Linked DNA regions of Homo sapiens: regions 2, 3 and 4 are each linked to region 1. Evidence: promoter capture Hi-C in 16 types of primary human blood cells and fetal thymus (Javierre and others, 2016). All regions are on one chromosome and are shown on one strand. The core of a region is centred on a gene start or on the middle of the fragment in contact, and the rest is flanking DNA. Distances in the headings are between cores, read along the strand shown.

Evidence for each region. The method cuts DNA at HindIII sites, captures the fragments that hold promoters and counts their contacts. A CHiCAGO score of 5 or more calls a contact.
Region 2: a contact is called between a fragment that was not itself captured here and the fragment with the promoter of CCSER1 in region 1, in 1 of 17 cell types (M2 macrophages). The highest score is 6.4, in M2 macrophages.
Region 3: a fragment that was not itself captured here is called in contact with the fragment with the promoter of CCSER1 in region 1 in 1 of 17 cell types (total B cells); the score reaches 5.3 in total B cells.
Region 4: a fragment that was not itself captured here is called in contact with the fragment with the promoter of CCSER1 in region 1 in 1 of 17 cell types (M2 macrophages); the score reaches 7.6 in M2 macrophages.

What each region holds. Positions count from the first base shown.
Region 1 is chr4:90,125,006-90,129,311 of GRCh38, forward strand. It overlaps CCSER1 (coiled-coil serine rich protein 1), which reads left to right and starts at 2,389. Exons shown (of 11, transcript NM_001145065.2): 1 at 2,389-2,826. RefSeq lists silencers at 2,947-3,146, 3,257-3,506. The HindIII fragment of the contact is 6,776 bases long and covers 723-4,306 here.
Region 2 is chr4:90,238,421-90,242,726 of GRCh38, forward strand. The region is part of intron 1 of CCSER1 (coiled-coil serine rich protein 1); the gene reads left to right. Among named protein-coding and RNA genes, the nearest start is that of CCSER1, 110 kb to the left of the region's middle. The HindIII fragment of the contact is 4,187 bases long and covers 36-4,222 here.
Region 3 is chr4:90,017,592-90,021,897 of GRCh38, forward strand. No RefSeq gene overlaps it. Among named protein-coding and RNA genes, the nearest start is that of CCSER1, 110 kb to the right of the region's middle. The HindIII fragment of the contact is 6,025 bases long and covers 1-4,306 here.
Region 4 is chr4:90,213,259-90,217,564 of GRCh38, forward strand. The region is part of intron 1 of CCSER1 (coiled-coil serine rich protein 1); the gene reads left to right. Among named protein-coding and RNA genes, the nearest start is that of CCSER1, 88 kb to the left of the region's middle. The HindIII fragment of the contact is 1,029 bases long and covers 1,197-2,225 here.

The sequences.
Region 1 (4,306 bases), core at 1,139-3,638:
ATGCCCTTGAAATATCTGGTCTAATATATAATTTTGAAGTATGCAATATACAGTCATAATCAAATTATTGTTATTAATGACAATTAAATAGAGAACCAGGACACTGAAAACACCACAAACTTGCTGAATATGATTGAGTATCATCCCTTTAGGAGGACATAACCTTTTAAAATGTCTGTTTACGGCTCTCAAACCACCTATGTATTCACTAGATGCAAATGTTCAGTAATATCTCCTCTACAAAATTTCGTTTTACAATGACACCAGGTTTCTTTCAGAAAGGACTGTGTAGGAAAGTTTTCTTTTTCCATTTATGAGTTCAAGTATGTTAAGACTTTTTAAATTGTTGACCAGCCCTAAAAAACATTAACATTTCATAAATCGCTCTTGCATTGTAAAAAGAAGGAGGGAGGTAGAAGAAAAATGCCAAAGGATTGTAGGTCAGCTTATTTCATAAACAAAAGCTCTAAGGAAAGTCCTGAGATTTTTAAGTAAGCCAGGCCTTCTGAATGGGACATGATATGGACAGTAGAATAAGACAGATTGAGTTCCATTGACATTATTTATTCTTTGTATGATCTTAGGTTATCTACACACACTTTCAAAATTTAACTTTCTTGGTCTGTAAAATTGAGGAAATAATAATAGCTGTCCCATAGGGCACACTATCAATCCCAATATGCTTTGTTAGTCCATTCATTTTTCCAGTGCTTAATCAAAGAAGCTTTAATGGCCTATATACTTATATTATTGATATATTCACGCACCTGTCCCAACTTGCTGTCCTTTCCAATATCACTTTGTTTTTATCACACTCCTTAATATCACTTCTTTGTTAGGTCTTGATCACATGCTTAAATCATTTTTAATGTTTGCTAAACTCTGTATGAGAGATTGAAGAATTACGAGACAGGAACATCAATGTGAAAGGGTAAAATATGTGGAGAATATATAAGGTGCCAGCATATGACAAAACCCTAAAGATGTACGATGGTCACAAGCCATGGAAGAAGATAGGACAACTGAATTGTCAACCTTGCCGCCTCCTCCGTAGCCTCCTAAATCTTATCTTCCTTTTGTCTAATTTATGAAAAATGTTTCCTATAATTGTCTCCCAAAAGCAGAGTTGTCCCCATGCTGTAATATACATTGACCACTCAGATTCATTTAAAAAATACATCTTGCTTTTATTCCCAATATAACCACATTTCAGAAGTTAGATCATAGCCAGTTAGATTACACAGAGCGTGCGCACGCGCACGCGCACACACAAACACACCTTGAAAAAACTGTAGATCACTTGATTTCTGGAAGTTTTTCTCAATACCTCAGTGCACCTGATCACAACATCTTGTAATCTGGGCAGAAGGTAAGGGAGGTGATGTTAGGCGTACAAACTTAATATTGGGGATGCATTTTCTACCTAGAAATGGTCCTACATTCTACCAGAATGGGTTAAAAACAGATGCGCGCGCGCACACACACACACACACACACACAGAATTAAATGCACTACATTTGCTGTATTGCCTGCTAAAGGCATAAATATACTGGAGTGGAGATAAAGAAGGGGATGGATGGGAAAGAGTTCAGTACTTAGTGTAAACCTGAAAGGAAATGAGGCAGTGCAAGGGGAGAGAGGATCAGGGGAAAATAAATTATGTAGGCAACAGAACCATGCATCAAAAGTCTTTTCGATTTCTAAACTGGCAAATTTTCTCCAGGGGACCATCAGTCAAATGATGTCAAATTGAGCTGATTCTCTTGTAATGCCTGTATTGTGTAGGGCCTTCCTTGTAGGAACACAAGTTCCACTCTCGGACACAGTCGCAGTGCTTGCATTATCTTACAGAATTGATTGCTGCAAATGGTTCCTGGGAGGTGTGACCTGCTTAAAGGAAAGAAGCTAGGTTTCTTTTCTTGTTACTGAGGAATGAAGACACTTGTCAGGATGTGAATTGTGTGGGTGAGAAGGAAAAGCGGCGAAAGAATCTGGTAATTCCTTCCCTTACAGGAGGAAGAGAAAAAAGATAACATCGGAACCTTGGAGAGGAGAAATACAGTGCATTTATTTCCAGCATCCCCGCAGTCACTTCACGTCTCTTCAGACTTCCCCTATTCTTTAGTCTTGACCTGCCTATGCACTTGAACTCCACATAAGCACTAGGATGGACTGGGGGAAAAGGCCAGGTCAGCACGGTGGGATACTGCTTCCCCTAAAATGAAAACTCAGCAGCGGGCCAGCAGTGGGTGTGCGCGCGTCGATGCCAGAGGATGCGTGCGTGGAATCCGGCGGACGCAGTGGGCCGGGCACCGCCCTCCAAGCCGCCCCGCCCAGCCCACCACACTCCTCCTTGTATAAAGGCCGCGCTTGGGCCCGCCCTCCTCACAGCCCCGGAGCGCGGCCTGCCGGGGAGGTGGATCTCGCGCTCCCCACACAGTCACACTCCGCGCACTCACACACTTGGAAGCGCCTCCCCACGTCCCTCCCCTGCCCTCCTCTTGCTCTGCTCTTCTCTCCCTCACCACAAATAGTCGCCGACCTACTGCCAATCCGCCTCTCCTCTCTCTCTCTCTCTGTCTCAACATGACTGACTGGGAAGCGGTGGCTCGGGCAGAGCAGCTCCGCTGGCGCAGGCAGGAGGAGCAGGAGGATTATTAAATAACGCAGCTGGACTCTGTGCAACTGGGAGTGGAGAGGAGCCCAACAGCCGAGAAGGGGAGGGAGGGCAGAGGAGGGGGACCAGGAAGGACACCCCCGTGCCCCGAAGACATAAATCCCTGAGTGCCCGGGAGGAGCCTTAACAAGCGCACGGAGCCCTCAAGGTAGTAACGCCCCTGGTGCCTCAGCGCTCAGCGGGTCGCGCGTCGCGTCGCCGCTTTGCGGGGCCGGCCGCAGGCGGACGCGGGGATGACCGCTCGGCAGGTGACCGCGCCGTGTCGGGGCCGCCTGCGAGCAGCGCGCGCCCAGGCCCGGCGTGCTCGGCGCAGAGACCTGGCCTTGCGGGCGGGGTGGGAAGGAGGCGGGCGGGCTCGCTCACCACCGGCCCGCGACTCCCAGTGCGCCGCGTGGCCATTTCCTCCACGCTGCTGCGTGGTTTGCTGCCTGCGGCCGCGGCGGCCGCTCCAGGGCGATGCGGAGCGCTGGCCAAGGCGGCGAGAGTTGGCGCAGGCTTCGGGTCGCTCCCCTTCCTCGCCACTCGCGTCCCGCAGGTAGAGGCGACCGGTCAGCGCTGGCGCCCCGGGCTGCGGGTGCTGAGGCGGGGACGGCGGCGAAGAGGGGGAAGGGGAGGAGGGGGCGGGGAGCCAGGGGCTCCCGGAGGAACCGCAGTGCGGGGCCGGGACCACCTCTTGCCTCCGCCTGCTTGTCCTCTGGCGCCAGTTTCCTGGATTGGAAGCAAGACCCTGCCCAGAGGCAGCAGTAACGGCAGCGACTTAGATTGAACCACTTGCTTTGTGGTGGAGCGTCAAGGGCCCCAGGTTGTGTGCGTGTGTGTGTGTGTGTGTGTGTGCGCGCGCGCGCGCGCTCTGGACTAACCAGTGGGTTGGTTCACCTGAGCAGAAAGTCAGCCGTAAGCTGAAACCGCATGTGGCCCCCTGGCCCCTTCGACTTTTGGCTTGTGTCCCAGGGACTCGTACACACGGTGCCAGCAAGGGGTAAGGGTGACGGAGGGATTTGTGAATGGTGCTTCTGCGTGCGTGGAGGCTGAGCCTTGCTGATGTAAAGGAGGAGGTATCCAGAGTGAGAAGAAAGGCTATTTATGGCAAAGAGTTGTGAAATTTCTTGGGGTTTCCTTTTAGTGTATCCTGAACTGCTCTCTTTCTCTCTCTCTCTCTCTCCTCTCCCTGCCTCAGAATTAGAAGCAATTATGCTTCCCCTTCCTCTCGTGGGACATGGAATATGAAATGAAGTAAAAAAAAAACTCATATTTTTACAGGTAGAAAAAAATACTTCTTAGAAGTTACAGATTCTTTGCCCTTTAATGTTTTTATGTCCTCTTCTCCACCCCTCTTACCTTTTCAGGCAGTCAGTAGGACTTACAAGTCAGAAAATACCTACTTGGTTTCAACAGCTTTCATTTCTGAAATCTTTACAGTTGAATACCTTCCTATTGAAATGTAACACACATCCTCCCTTCTCTGCCCCTCAAGGACTATTAAAAATAATGTGTACACGTTTAAAGTAAAGCTGGTTTTATTAACAGCCTTAGGGAAAACGGATAAGAGGACACCTAGGTGGGGGTCAGTTATCACTGGTTCCTTCAAAACTGGTTATTAAGGGAAGACCTAAAATACTGGTAATCTA
Region 2 (4,306 bases), core at 879-3,378, 110 kb after region 1:
TACAAATGGTATTGAAGACTCACATAGGAAAAACAAGCTTGCCAAATAAAATAATGCAACAGCTAACATTTTCTATGAAATATTTTGCTTAGGATGCAGGTTTTGTTAGTGCTTTTGTTTTTAACCCTAAACTGTTTTCTACTGTCAGGTGATACTGCCCTTGAAACAGAGCTGTCCTGGTTGAATGTGACTTTTTTCTGCCGTGGGTACCTATCACTTCCTTCTCACACCCCCTCAACTCGTGCGCACATACACACACATACATCTGAAAGAATCAAGATGAACAGTTTGAACAATATGATCTCTGTAATACTATAAAGAACATTTACTTTTGGATTTTGTTTTGTTTTGTCTGTAATGGAGCTCTATAGGAATTAAATCTTCTGAAAACAGTCTTTTTAAAATATTAGCTTGGTGGATTTCTTCTAGCATTAATTTTTTTTTTTTTGAGACAGAGTCTCACTTTGTTGCCCAGGCTGCAGTGCAATGGCATGATCTCGGCTCATTGCAATCTCCATCTCCCAGGTTCAAGCGATTCTCCTTCCTCAGCCTTCTGAGTAGCTGGGATTACAGGCATCTGCCACCACACCCAGCTAATTTTTGTATTTTTAGTAGAGACGGGGTTTTACCATGTTGGCCAGGCTGGTTCCGAACTCCTGACCGCAGGTGATCCGCCTGCCTGGGCCTCCCAAAGTGTTGGGACAGGTGTGAGCCACCGTGCCCAGCCAGAAAGTTTTAGTCAATAACAAAAACACATTTTTTGAGTAGTTGTTTAACATGATTAAAAGCACACTTGGACTTTAATTAGGAAACAATAAACATACATCCCATAGGAGTTAATCTTTGTAAACAACACCAATTTTGAAGGCTACAGTCAGTTATATTGATCACTTCAGTGATACTGAGACATATACTGCACTTTATGCATTGATCTTTGACATAGAAAGATCAGCACGTTAATGTAAAAAATTGCCACTATGTATTTGAAATTTAAGCCCTACTATTAGCTAATATTCAAAATAACTCATTTACTTGATACTGTAATGTGTAGTCAACTGATTTTTCCTTTTAAATAGATTGATCTGTTATATATATATTAGAGGCAGAGTCTCACTCTGTCACTTAGGCTGGAGAGCAGTGGTACAATTATGGTTCACTGCAGCTTCCAACTCCTGGGCACAAACAGTCCTCCTGCCTTAGCCACCACTATGCTCAGCTAATTATTTTTAATTTTTTTTTGTAAATGTGGGCTCTTGCATTGTTGCTCAGTCTAATCTCGAACGCCTGGTCTCAAGTGACTCCTGCTTCAGCCTCCCAAAGTACTGGGATTATAGGCACGATCCTGCACCTGCCCCAATTCTGTATTTTTATTTGTTCTTAGTTGTAGCTTGTAATTATTTCCAAATGTGAATCATAATCAGATTGATTCAATACCAAGTTTTAGAAGAATTGTGTATCAACTAGTCCACTTTGAAGAGGAAAACCACATAGTAGGTTAAACTAGTGAGTTTAATTTAAAAATATTATTAAAGTATGACAAAAGAGTAACTTCTCTCTAAGATATAGAGAAACCTAAGTGGTACCCTGAAGCTAAAGGAGTGTAACCAAAGAATGACAAACTTGGAAGAGGATCAGATCTTAAAGAGAAGGTGTAATTCATCTCACTGGAGAGCAGAGAAGTTTTCGAGTTTGGCTGAGCATCCAGAGATGGCCCATAGTCATGGGGCAAGCTGGCGGCCAGTAGAATAGTCGGCATGGATAACCAAACCAGTGGCTATGTTTCAGAGGACATGAGCACCCTCCAGGGAAGAGTATGGGGCCTGTAGTGGACTCAGTAGGACTCAGGAGGACTGCCAGAGGGGAGGGGGCTTCAGGTAGATGGCCCATAGCCCTACAGAGGGAATTCTGACTCTGATGGGCATTTCTTTCTGGAGAAGGCCTTGGGAAGATTGTCTCTAGCTTGAGACTGCAAGATTGGCAAGCAACCACACGTTCTTATACCCTGCATGGCTTGGCAGGGCTACACTGAATGTCCTCACACCTCTACCCAAATCACTGACTCCTGTGTCACCAGAAGTCATGGAAGAGCCCCTTCCTCCTGCAGTGTCCCTCCAGCTTCCTCTACTGGGAACACTCAGCATCACACCCATTGTAAAGAAGAAATACTTAAAAGAATTCTATCTATGATCATAGGACATATATTTGTGGAAAAGTGCATTTGGAGCTGGGAGGCAATTAATTCATAACTAGCACACATTGCCTTACATTTAGGTGCTGGTTATAGCTAATATTGTGGCAAAAATGACAACTCTAAATGCCGTAAGAATGTCATGTTGCTTTCAGGTGCCCAATTTTAGCCCCTTGGACTTGTCCATCTGGATTAGTCACATTATCCTAGTTTTCAGTAGCTGATCTTAGGCCTGTGCTTATTTTTCACCATATCCTTCAAAGACACCACCTATAGCTCTCTGCAGTGGGAATGAAAGCCTGTCTACATATACCACTGTAAATATGCTCAAATTCTTTGAGTGTTTGAGCAGCTTTAGTCAAAGGAATTCATGGTGTATCAATAGACTCTATTCTAATTAAAACCATTTAAATCACTTTTATAAGCAAGTGAGGAAACTGTTTAGCCCCAGAGTGTGCACTAGTAATAGCACATAGTTCATTTCACAAAGCTAAAGAGCAATATTGATGATAGGGCACTAAGGAGCATGCGAGTGCATAGATCAATTTGTTACTAGTCAGTCATTGTTTTTCTCTGTTATTAGTACAACCACTATTGTGGTTTAGGTGAGAAAATGTTATTAGTGACTGCTTTCTGGTGCTTTATAGGTGCTATCATTTACTTTCATGTTCATATACTGTTGTAATCATGTATGAATGAGTTGCCAACTATTATATATTATGTATACGTAAGAGACAGGTAAAGAGGTGCATGCCGGTATCAAATATGATATTTACAAAGATACATATTAATAATTCCTAGATAATGGTGGTTTATTATGAACGACAGTAACAGCTAGATGGTAAATCATTCACAATATTTATGTCTATTGTTGCTTTAACATAGGAATTACCAATGGCAATCACATTTTATTTTCCTAGCAGCCAGAACACTTTTGTTATACATCATTTATTCTTTCTTAAAAGAAAAAAAATCCTTTCTAGAAACACTGTTATTCCTTTGACAATTTGCTTTGGATTTGTAATCTTTCCTTAGGGTGTTATTTTTTTTTCTTTAGGGAAAAGAAGGAAAGGGATACACGTGGTTAAAAAAATGCCAACATGAATAAATCCAACAGATAAATTGTTAGCAATTACATTTTTAAGAGTGTTGCAGGAGCATTAACATTGAGAAACTAATACTTAAGTACAAATGGTTTAATTGTAATATGGAAAATAGGTGATGCTATAAAAACTATTATGATTCATATCTATAAAATTAGTAATGGAATGATTATAGGACAAGAAATATGCTTTGGTATGAAATTGTATTCTAAGAATCTTCTATCATCAAATCTAGTTAGTTAAATCTACTAACCCTGAATTTAAGATCTGTGAATGAATTTACCTTTATCTACCATGAAAATAACAAAGCATAGGCTGGGCGCAGTGGCTCCCACCTATAATCCCAGCACTTTTGGAAGCCGAGGTGGGCAGATCACTTGAGGTCAGGAGTTCAAGACCAGCCTGGCCAACATGGTGAAATCCGGTCTTACTAAAAATAAAAAAAATTAGCTGGGCATGGTGGTGCATGCCTGTAATCCCAGTTACTTGGGAGGTTGAGGCAGGAGAATCATCTGAGCATGGGAGACGGAGCTTGCAGTGAGCCGAGATTGTGCCAGTGCACTCTAGCCTGGGCTACAGAGCAAGACTCCGTCTCAAAAAGAAAAGAAAAGAAAAGAACAAAGCATAAATGTAGTGGACCTAGGAGTACTCTTAGGCACTATTCCCAATGTTAAGGAACTTAAAATCTGTAGCTTTTAAACTGTTGATATTTTTTATACTATAGTACGAAGAAATGTACAAAATAATTGAGTCAAAAGTATACAATTTATTTAGAACAAAAAAGCATATGAAAAGGATGATGATAATAAATGAGTGTATTGAAGAGATAATAAAATGATGGACAAGAACATGAACCTAGTGAACAATGTAGTAAGCTATCAGTTAGCAGATAACCACAAAATGCATCATTTCCATGGCTCTGTGAAAACTAAGCTTACAAAAATGATTTTTCCCCTTTGGTTATAAGGATAACAATTAATTATAGAGCACGTTTATTGAGTGTCCACTAGGTATG
Region 3 (4,306 bases), core at 1,265-3,764, 110 kb before region 1:
TGACCAAGAATTTCCTTCAAATTAATGTCAGACGCCAACCCACAGATCCAGAAAGCTCAAAGGACACCAGGTGGGATAATGAAGAAGAAGAAGAAAAAAGAAAAACAAAACGAAAAATCTAGGCATAACATTTGCAAAAACCTAGGCATATCATTTGCAAATTACATAAAATCAAAAATAAAGAAAAAGTCCTGAAAGAATCAGAGGGAAGAAACATCTTACCTATAGACTCATCTCTAGGTGAATGAAGATAAGAATTAATCCAACTTCTCTTCGGAAACCATGCAAGCAATAACAGGAGGAATAAAATATTTAAAACATTGAGGACAGAACCAACCTAGAATTCCATACTCTGCAAAATTATCCTTTAGAAGTGAAGGAGAAATAGTTTCTCAGACAAATAAAAATTGAGGGAATGTCTTTCTAGCAGATCTGCTTTACAAGATATGTTAAAAGAAATGTCTCTTAGAGAGAAAAACAATAATATAGATAAAAACTCAGATCTATATAAAGAAAGGAATAGCACCAAAGATAGAATAAGTGAAGGTAAAATAAAAACTTATTTTTCTTATTCTTAATTGATCTAACAGACGACAGTGTGTTCAAAATAATAATGGCAGCAATGTATTTTAGTACATCTGCATATGTATGCTTATATGTAAGTGCAATGAATGCCAGTAATGATACAAGGGACAAGAGGGAGAATTAGGATTGTCTTGTTATTATATGGTTCTCACATTACCCATTAAGTGGTAAAATATTATTTGAAAGTGGGCTTAAATTAGTTGTAAATGTATGTTGCAAGTTCTCGGGAAGAAACGGGGGAAAAAAAGAAGTATAACTGATATGCTAAGAACAGAAAGAAAATAAAATCATATAAAATACCCCAAACCACAAAAGGCAGAAAGGAGCAGAAGACAAAAATAGGAACAAAGAACAAGGGGAACAAATTAAAAACAATAACAAATATGGTAGATATTTATTTTAAATATAAATGGCCTAAATATACCAATTAAAAGACAGAGATTGTCAGAGTGTATCAAAAAATAAAACTCAGCTATATGTTGTCTACAAGAAACTCACTTTGGACAGAGAAAAATTTACTATGTTAACACTAACCCAAAGAAAGCAGTAGTGGCCATATTAAACTTAGACAGCAGAATTCAAAGCAAGAGGAGTTACTGGGATAAAGAAGAGCATTACAAAGTTTGTTTATCCTCCACTTATGATTTATAGAGATCTCTGATCCTCATTTGCCATACCAATGCTCCCATCATCTTCCTTTTATAGATATCAGCTAAAATAGAACTTTTAGAAATCCTAGTGCTCTGCCAATCAGAAATATGAGACCAGAGAAGTTGAGTGATTTTCGTAAGATTTTTCAGCCAGCCAGATTTCTGTATGCATTACCACTGGCATGGTGAACTGTCCAGTCTCATAAACCTAGTGGACATTTTTTGGATAAGCAGGTCCACAGGTCCTTAATGCTTTGTAAATACATTCTTTAGAGGCAATTTATGAGAAGTGAAAATGAGTTTAAATATACCAGAAATGGTGTACTTAAAAAATAAATGAATAAAAATAAATAAATACACCAGTAATTATTTTATATTCTTAATACTCTCAATATGAGGTAGCTCAATAGTGCAATTCCATTACATTTATGAATCCAGCAACAGTCTTTCACACTGAGTTTTGTAGCAGTATCTTTTGTTTGAAATAATTTAAATCTGATATTTTAAACTTCTAATAAAGTTTGAAATATTTTTTAACCAGTATTCAGATTTGTTCAAAATAAATTGCAGATTATTCTTAAAATTATTTTTCTTATTGTTGTGTATTTTGATCTGAAAGTAATATATAAATTATTTTAACCTCAAAAATGAAATGTGTTTTTTATGTATACTTCATACACAGATTATTATGAATAAACTCAAGATTTCATTGACATTAAATGTGAGTGGAAATCATCATTTGTTTTGGAAACAAACATTTAAAAATCATTCCTTCTATTTTAATATATAACTACTAACTAAGCATCTAAATATAGCCTATACTGTTCCATATATGATTAGAATTATAGATTTCATCAGTCACACATTATTAGCATATTAATAATAGTTTCTATTTTAAAGGAAATCACTTTTTCTCAGCTCTCTAAGAGGATTCATAATTTATTTGTGCTGACCTGACAAATGCAGTAAAGTAGTATTAATCTATATCTGATTGTATGCTTCACAAGTGCATTATTTCTCATTACTAGACTTTAGTTCCTTCCAGATGTGTGTAAACTGATGTCCAGATCGCTTTTCAGAGTTACTTATAATGAATATTAATTTTTGTCACTCAGCTTTTCCTGAAGATGAAGGTCCTGTTGTTTAAAATAAAATATATTTTATTCTCGTCTTTTTTCTAAGAGTATCAATCACAATCAAAGGATTTCTACCCTGTCTCATTTTTATGTTTAATGGTGATGTTATTAAAAATGCACACTTATATGAAAGATTACTTTAATTAGCCAATAGAAATTCACTACAGCTATTCTTGTTACACACTAATATCTCTTGAGGAGCAACAGTTTATATTCACTTAACTCAAAAATACGAAGAGATCCTTAGTTGCATGTTGATTTTGAGGGAAGAATACTTTATCTGGTTTATCCTTGAAATAAATCCATTCTTTGCTATTTAGAGAAATCTTTGTAGCCGAATCCCTTTGATACAAAGAGGATATGATAAAATTCTAGAAAAGAATGATGTGTGTGTACTGTGAAGGTGGGTATTTTAAACCATCTAAGAGACAAGGGGAAAAAAATGAATTGATTCAAGTTCAGTAGCCAGAAGCTGAAGGTGCAGACATTTAGGTTTTTGTAGACCTTCCTAATCCCTCTTCTTCTGGCAAAAGCAGCCAAAATTCATTTTAGGAAATTGTCACGACCCAATTTTGTGTGGTCTTGATAAGACTGTAAATCAAGCCAAGGCACGGCACTTAACCTAAATAGGTGAATGAGACTTTCTCTCCATTTCACACCTATCTTCATCCCTTAGTTATTGATAGGAAAGCCTCAAGAATGTACTGGGAAAAGTCATTGGTAATCTAGATGCTGTGGCAGAAGTACATTGCAGGATTGGTTAATTATAATTTTATAACTTAGTACATACCTGGTTAAAGTATTATGGAAGAAAGTTTACTATAATATGAACTCCATTTTGTTTCTTCTCAAGAGAGGGAACATTTTCTTGAATTGCCATGAAATAGACCCTCAAATTACAGTTTGAAGGCTTAGGAGCATCATGGGCACTGTGCCACCAGGGTTAATCAGTTACATCATCCTGAGATTGTCCTCTCACCTACAATGCTAAATGTATGGATTAGAGAAATGCTCAGCTACTGGAGGGCACAGGGTGGATGTGTGGACCAAGATAGAGCTAGACTAGATGGAAAGTGTGATCAAGTGTCTGTTTGAAAAACCGTCCATGGAATATGGTGGAACAATGCAGGAGCATATAGGATGTTTTAGAAACAATTGATGCTGTCGATCAAAATCTGCAGGACTTCGGTCCTAAAGTTTTCCAATACCTTGGACATTTATCCACTAAGAAAATGTATATTATAACCATAGATCTGTCTGAACACAACTGGTCATGATATTTTTCTTTACATATGGCTACTCTATAAAATTAACTTAATTTTACCAAAAAAAAAAAAAAAAATAGGCCAGGTGCAGTGGCACATGCCTGTAATCCTAGCACTTTGGGAGGCCCTAGGCAGGCAGATTGCCTGAGTTCAGGAGTTTGAGACTAGCCTGGGCAACATGGTGAAACCCCATCTCTGCCAAAATACAAAAAATTAACCAGGCATTGTGGCAGGTGCCTGTAGTCTCAGCTACTCGGGAGGCTGAGGCAGGAGAACTGCTTGAACCAGGGAGGCAGTGGTTGCAGTTAGCCACTCACTGCACTCCAGCCTGGGCAACAGAGCCAGCCTCTGTCTCAAAAAAATAAACAAAACTTATTTAATTTTAAAAAACTAAAAATCACCTCTGACTATAGAATCTTACCTTGCTTGAAAATGCAAAGCATCAGCGAGTATTATAACTAACTACTCTGCACCACTAGATTTCATAGGAAAACAAAATAACCTAGAAAATGGAAAAAAATGAAAAAACAAAAAAACCCCAGAATTCTTTATCTTAATAATGGCATGGGACTGCCACTCACCCCAGAGCACTTCCTGGATATTCAAAGTGAGGTTAAAGAGCATAGTCACATTGCCTTCACACAGCAAACTGGAAGTAGCCCTATAAGGG
Region 4 (4,306 bases), core at 461-2,960, 88 kb after region 1:
TGGTTTTTAGATTGGACTGTAAATATGGAATTGCCATTTTCTGAGATGGGGAAGGAGATTGTGAGATGAGCAAGTATTTGGAGGAAAACCAGGTATTTCCTTTGGGATGTGGTAAGGTTGAGATGTCTATTGGACATCTAAGTGAAAATGTTGAGTAGGCCATAGAATATGTGATTCTGGATTTCACAGGCTAGATCTGGGCTGGGGATAGAGATTTGGAAGTCCACGGTATATAGCTGGGCATTTACCACGTGGAACTAGGTGAGATCACCTGGCAGAGGGGTGTACATAATAAAGAGGAGAGGTCCACGAACTGAACTCTGAGGAGTGTGCACTTGTGGAGATTGTGGAAACTATGAAGAAGAACCAGCAAATGCTTGGTGAGGGACAAGCCAAGAAGTGAGGAGGAAAACCAGGAGAGTTTGTTGTACTCGACGCCAAGTAAGGAAAGTACATCAAGAAGGGATTAGTCAACACTGACAGATGCTAGTTCTTAAATAAGGTGAGGACTGAATTTAGCAGTGGTCTTAGCAATATGAAGATCATTCATTACTTGGACAAAAGCTGCTTCATTGAAATTGTGGTGACAAAAACTTGACTGGAATATCTTTAAATGAAAATTGGAGAAAACAGAAGTAGAGACAGAAAGGATGAGAGATGCTTTTGAATGATTTAGCCATAAAAGAGAGAATAGAATAAGTCAATAGCTGGAGGGAGGAGAGGGATTAAGGAATTTTTGTTTGTTTTTAAGGTTAATACATTATGTTTATAAGGAATAATCTGAATAAATTTGTAGGCAATAATCTAAAGAAGATAAAATTAACCATGTAATGGAGAAGGAATGCAATTTCTGGAATGAGGCGATTAATTTGCTGAGAGGGGATGGAACGCAGTGCAAATATGGGAGAGCTGGCCTTGGATAGACACAGGAGGTGTTTATCTTTAGCAGTGGTAAGAAAGGGAGATTACATGGACAGAGTTGCAAGTGGATTGGGAATGTGGAACTAGGAGTCTATAGAAGTTCTTTTCAAAATGCTTCTATGTTTTCAGTAATAGACCAATGTGAGAGTGAGGATAATAGGAGAAGGTGTTGGAGGTTTGAGAGGAGAGTAAAGAATATGAATATATCACCTAGGCGAGTTAGGGATGCACTAATAGGATTGCTGGAGAGCACCCAGGGAAACGCTGGAGATTAAAGCTTATGATTCTAAAATGTGATCACTCAGCATAATCAGTAAATATTGTTCACAAAAATGAATTAACTGTGAATTTCTCAGTTATTTTGACATCATGTAGCCATGCAGTTGCTAGGTCATTACAAGGCAATAAAAAGTAGATGTATTTCCTAAAGAAATACTGTAAGATCTGGCCAAGTCAGTGGATTTGCTACATAACAAAGGCACAATCAGAGTTTCTGCTAATTCAGTCCTAGATGAGAGTAAATTGTGAAATTAGAACAATCATATAGGCTTTTGAGATAACAGACTTTAAAAAAACATTTTTCTACTTTTATAAATGAAGAAGCTGAGGTCCAGAGAGGTTAAAGGATTCCCTTGTTGTGAATCACATTACCTTTTACAAAGAATTTTGAATATTCTAGTAAATATGCTCTTCCAGGAATGTTACATTTTATTCTAATTTTATTCCTTTTAATATAGCATTCCTGTTAGGTTTTTCAATTTGTGTTTGATTGTACAGTTATGTAAATTCTTTTTGACAGATTTGTTATTAAGGGAAGAAAGATGAGTATGAATTCTAACAGCTCATTAATTTTAAAGAAATGTGTCATGAATTAATGCTTTGAGTGCTATATTTTTCTCTTTACATTATGTTTTTCTGGTTGAATAGAATTCTATCAAAATAAATAGGTTATTTAAAAATGATTAGGTAGGAGCTATATAAAGATTCTCCTAAGCATGTTCACCGTTCCTGAGAAATAGGTTGAATGTAATACCCAACTAGTGAAGCATTATCATCAGCAATACATGATTACATTGTAGCCTTTCTTTACAAAGCTAGTTATAAAAAATATTTTCTTTGTAAAAGGTTTTCAAAGTGTCTTTCACTTGAGTGAGCATTTAGTGAATTAAAGTCCTTTCACCAAAGTATATATTTCTTAAGCATATTGACTACAAAAAGGATGTCCTTGACCTACTTGTTTACAGGAAGTGAAATCAGTTACTTTCGACCTTTAGTATAGTAGCAAGTTTAATGAGGGGTGAGTAAGCTTTCACTGTATAGATTTCAACATCACCTGACTTTCTTGAAGTTCAGGAAAAACACCATTTATCTCAGTTTAAAAATATGCACACCTGGTTAAAAAAAATAAAAGCAAGTTCACACTCCTCTGTGCTCTATTTGACAGATAAAATATACACAGGGCACTAGTGATCAAATGTGGGTCAAAGTATCTGCTTTAATAATGGGCAAGATAGTTCCCAATAATTTCAAAATATAGAACTTTCTGGCAAAGGTGCAATGGAAAATGTATCTTAGACCTGAGGCTAAATTGAAAACCTGCCTCAGATCTAATCTTTGGAACCCCAGATCTAATCTTTGGAACCCACTCACTGTCCAACAGGCTTTACTACCTGAGAACATGAAGCAGGAGAGAAGGGCAGGGGCGAGGTGGGGGCCTGCACAGGGTCAGGATGTAGGAGGTGCAGAAGACAGAGTTTGTAGTGTGTGTGAATATGTGTGTGTGTTCTGTATGTACGTGGATAATATCTAATGAATTCCGCTCACCAACTGTGAAAAATTCTGATGGATAAAATTTGTCACTCTTTATCCCTGAAGAGATTTGAATAAGTTGGTAGAAAGGAGCAGAAACTTTTTATATAACACAGACCCTTGCTACTCAAATGTGTGGTGGTTCTTGAATCAGCACCGTCTGCATCACCTGGAAGCTTGTTAGAAATGCAGAATTTAAGGCTTAATCCCGGACCTACTGAATCAGAATGCGCTTTTTAACAATACTTCTCTCTACTCCTGGGTGATTGATTCATGCATTGAATTTGAAAAGCGCTTCACTAGTTGCCAGATGTTTTGCTCTAAATTCCTTCTTCTGTGTACTAAGGCATAATATAGGAAAGACTCAAAGGATTTCTCCCTACAGCTGGAGTTCATAAGCTTCCATTATTGAAGTGAGGTGTATAGTGTTTTTGAGATAGTCCAGTGGATGGGAATGTTTTTAAGATCTTTCAACTACAAAACTGTGACAGTCAGAGCAACTTATATTAAAGATGTGCACATTACAGTTCTGTATTAGATATCATTTATAAAAGAGATTTCCATTGACTTTGTTGAAGATCAGATGGCTGTAGGTGTGTGACTTTGTTTCTGGGTTCTCTAGTCTGTTTCATTGATCTATGCATCTTTTTTTGTACCAGTACCATCCTGTTTTGGCTACTGTAGCATTATAGTATAGTTTGAAGTCCATAGTACAGTGTGATGCTTCCAGCTTTGTTCTTTTTGTTTAGGATTTCTTTGGATATTTAGGCTGGTTTTCGGTTCCATATGAATTTTAGAATCATTTTTCTTCTAATTCTGTGATAAATGATGTTGGTCACTTGGCAACCAACAGGAATAGCATTGAATCTGGAGGTTTCCTTTGGCAGTATGACAATTTTAACAATGATTGATTCTTCCGACCCTTGAACATGGGATGTTTTCCATTTGTTTTTGTCATCTGTGATTTCTTTTAGCAGTGTTTTGTAGTTCTCCTTGTAGTGATCTTTTACGTCCTTGGTTAGATTTATTCCTAGGTATTTAATTTTTTTGTGTGTTGCTGTTGTAAATGAGATTACATTCTTGATTTGACTTGGATGTTATTGGTGTATAGCAGTGCTACTAATTTTCGTACATTGATTTTGTATCCTGAAACTTTCCTGAAGTCATTTATCAGCTCCAGGAGCCTTTTGGTGGAGTCTTTAGACGTTTTTTTGTTTTTTATTTTTGAGATGGAGTCTTGCTCCATTTCCCAGGCTGGAGTGCAGTGGTGCGATCTCGGCTCACTGCAGCCTCCACCTCCGGGGTTCAAGTGATTCTCTTGCCTCAGCCTCCTGAGTAGCTGGAATTACAGGTGCCTGCCACCATGCCTGGCTAATTTTTGTATTTTTTTAGTAGAAACAGGGTTTCATCATGTTGGCCAGGCTGGTCTCAAAACTCCTGACCTTGTATTCCGCCCGCCTCGGCCTCCCAAAGTACTGGGATTATAGGCATGAGCCACCATGCCCAGCCCTCTTTAGGGCTTTCTAGGTATAGAATTATATTGTCCCAAAAGAGAGATAGGCTGACTTCTTCTTCT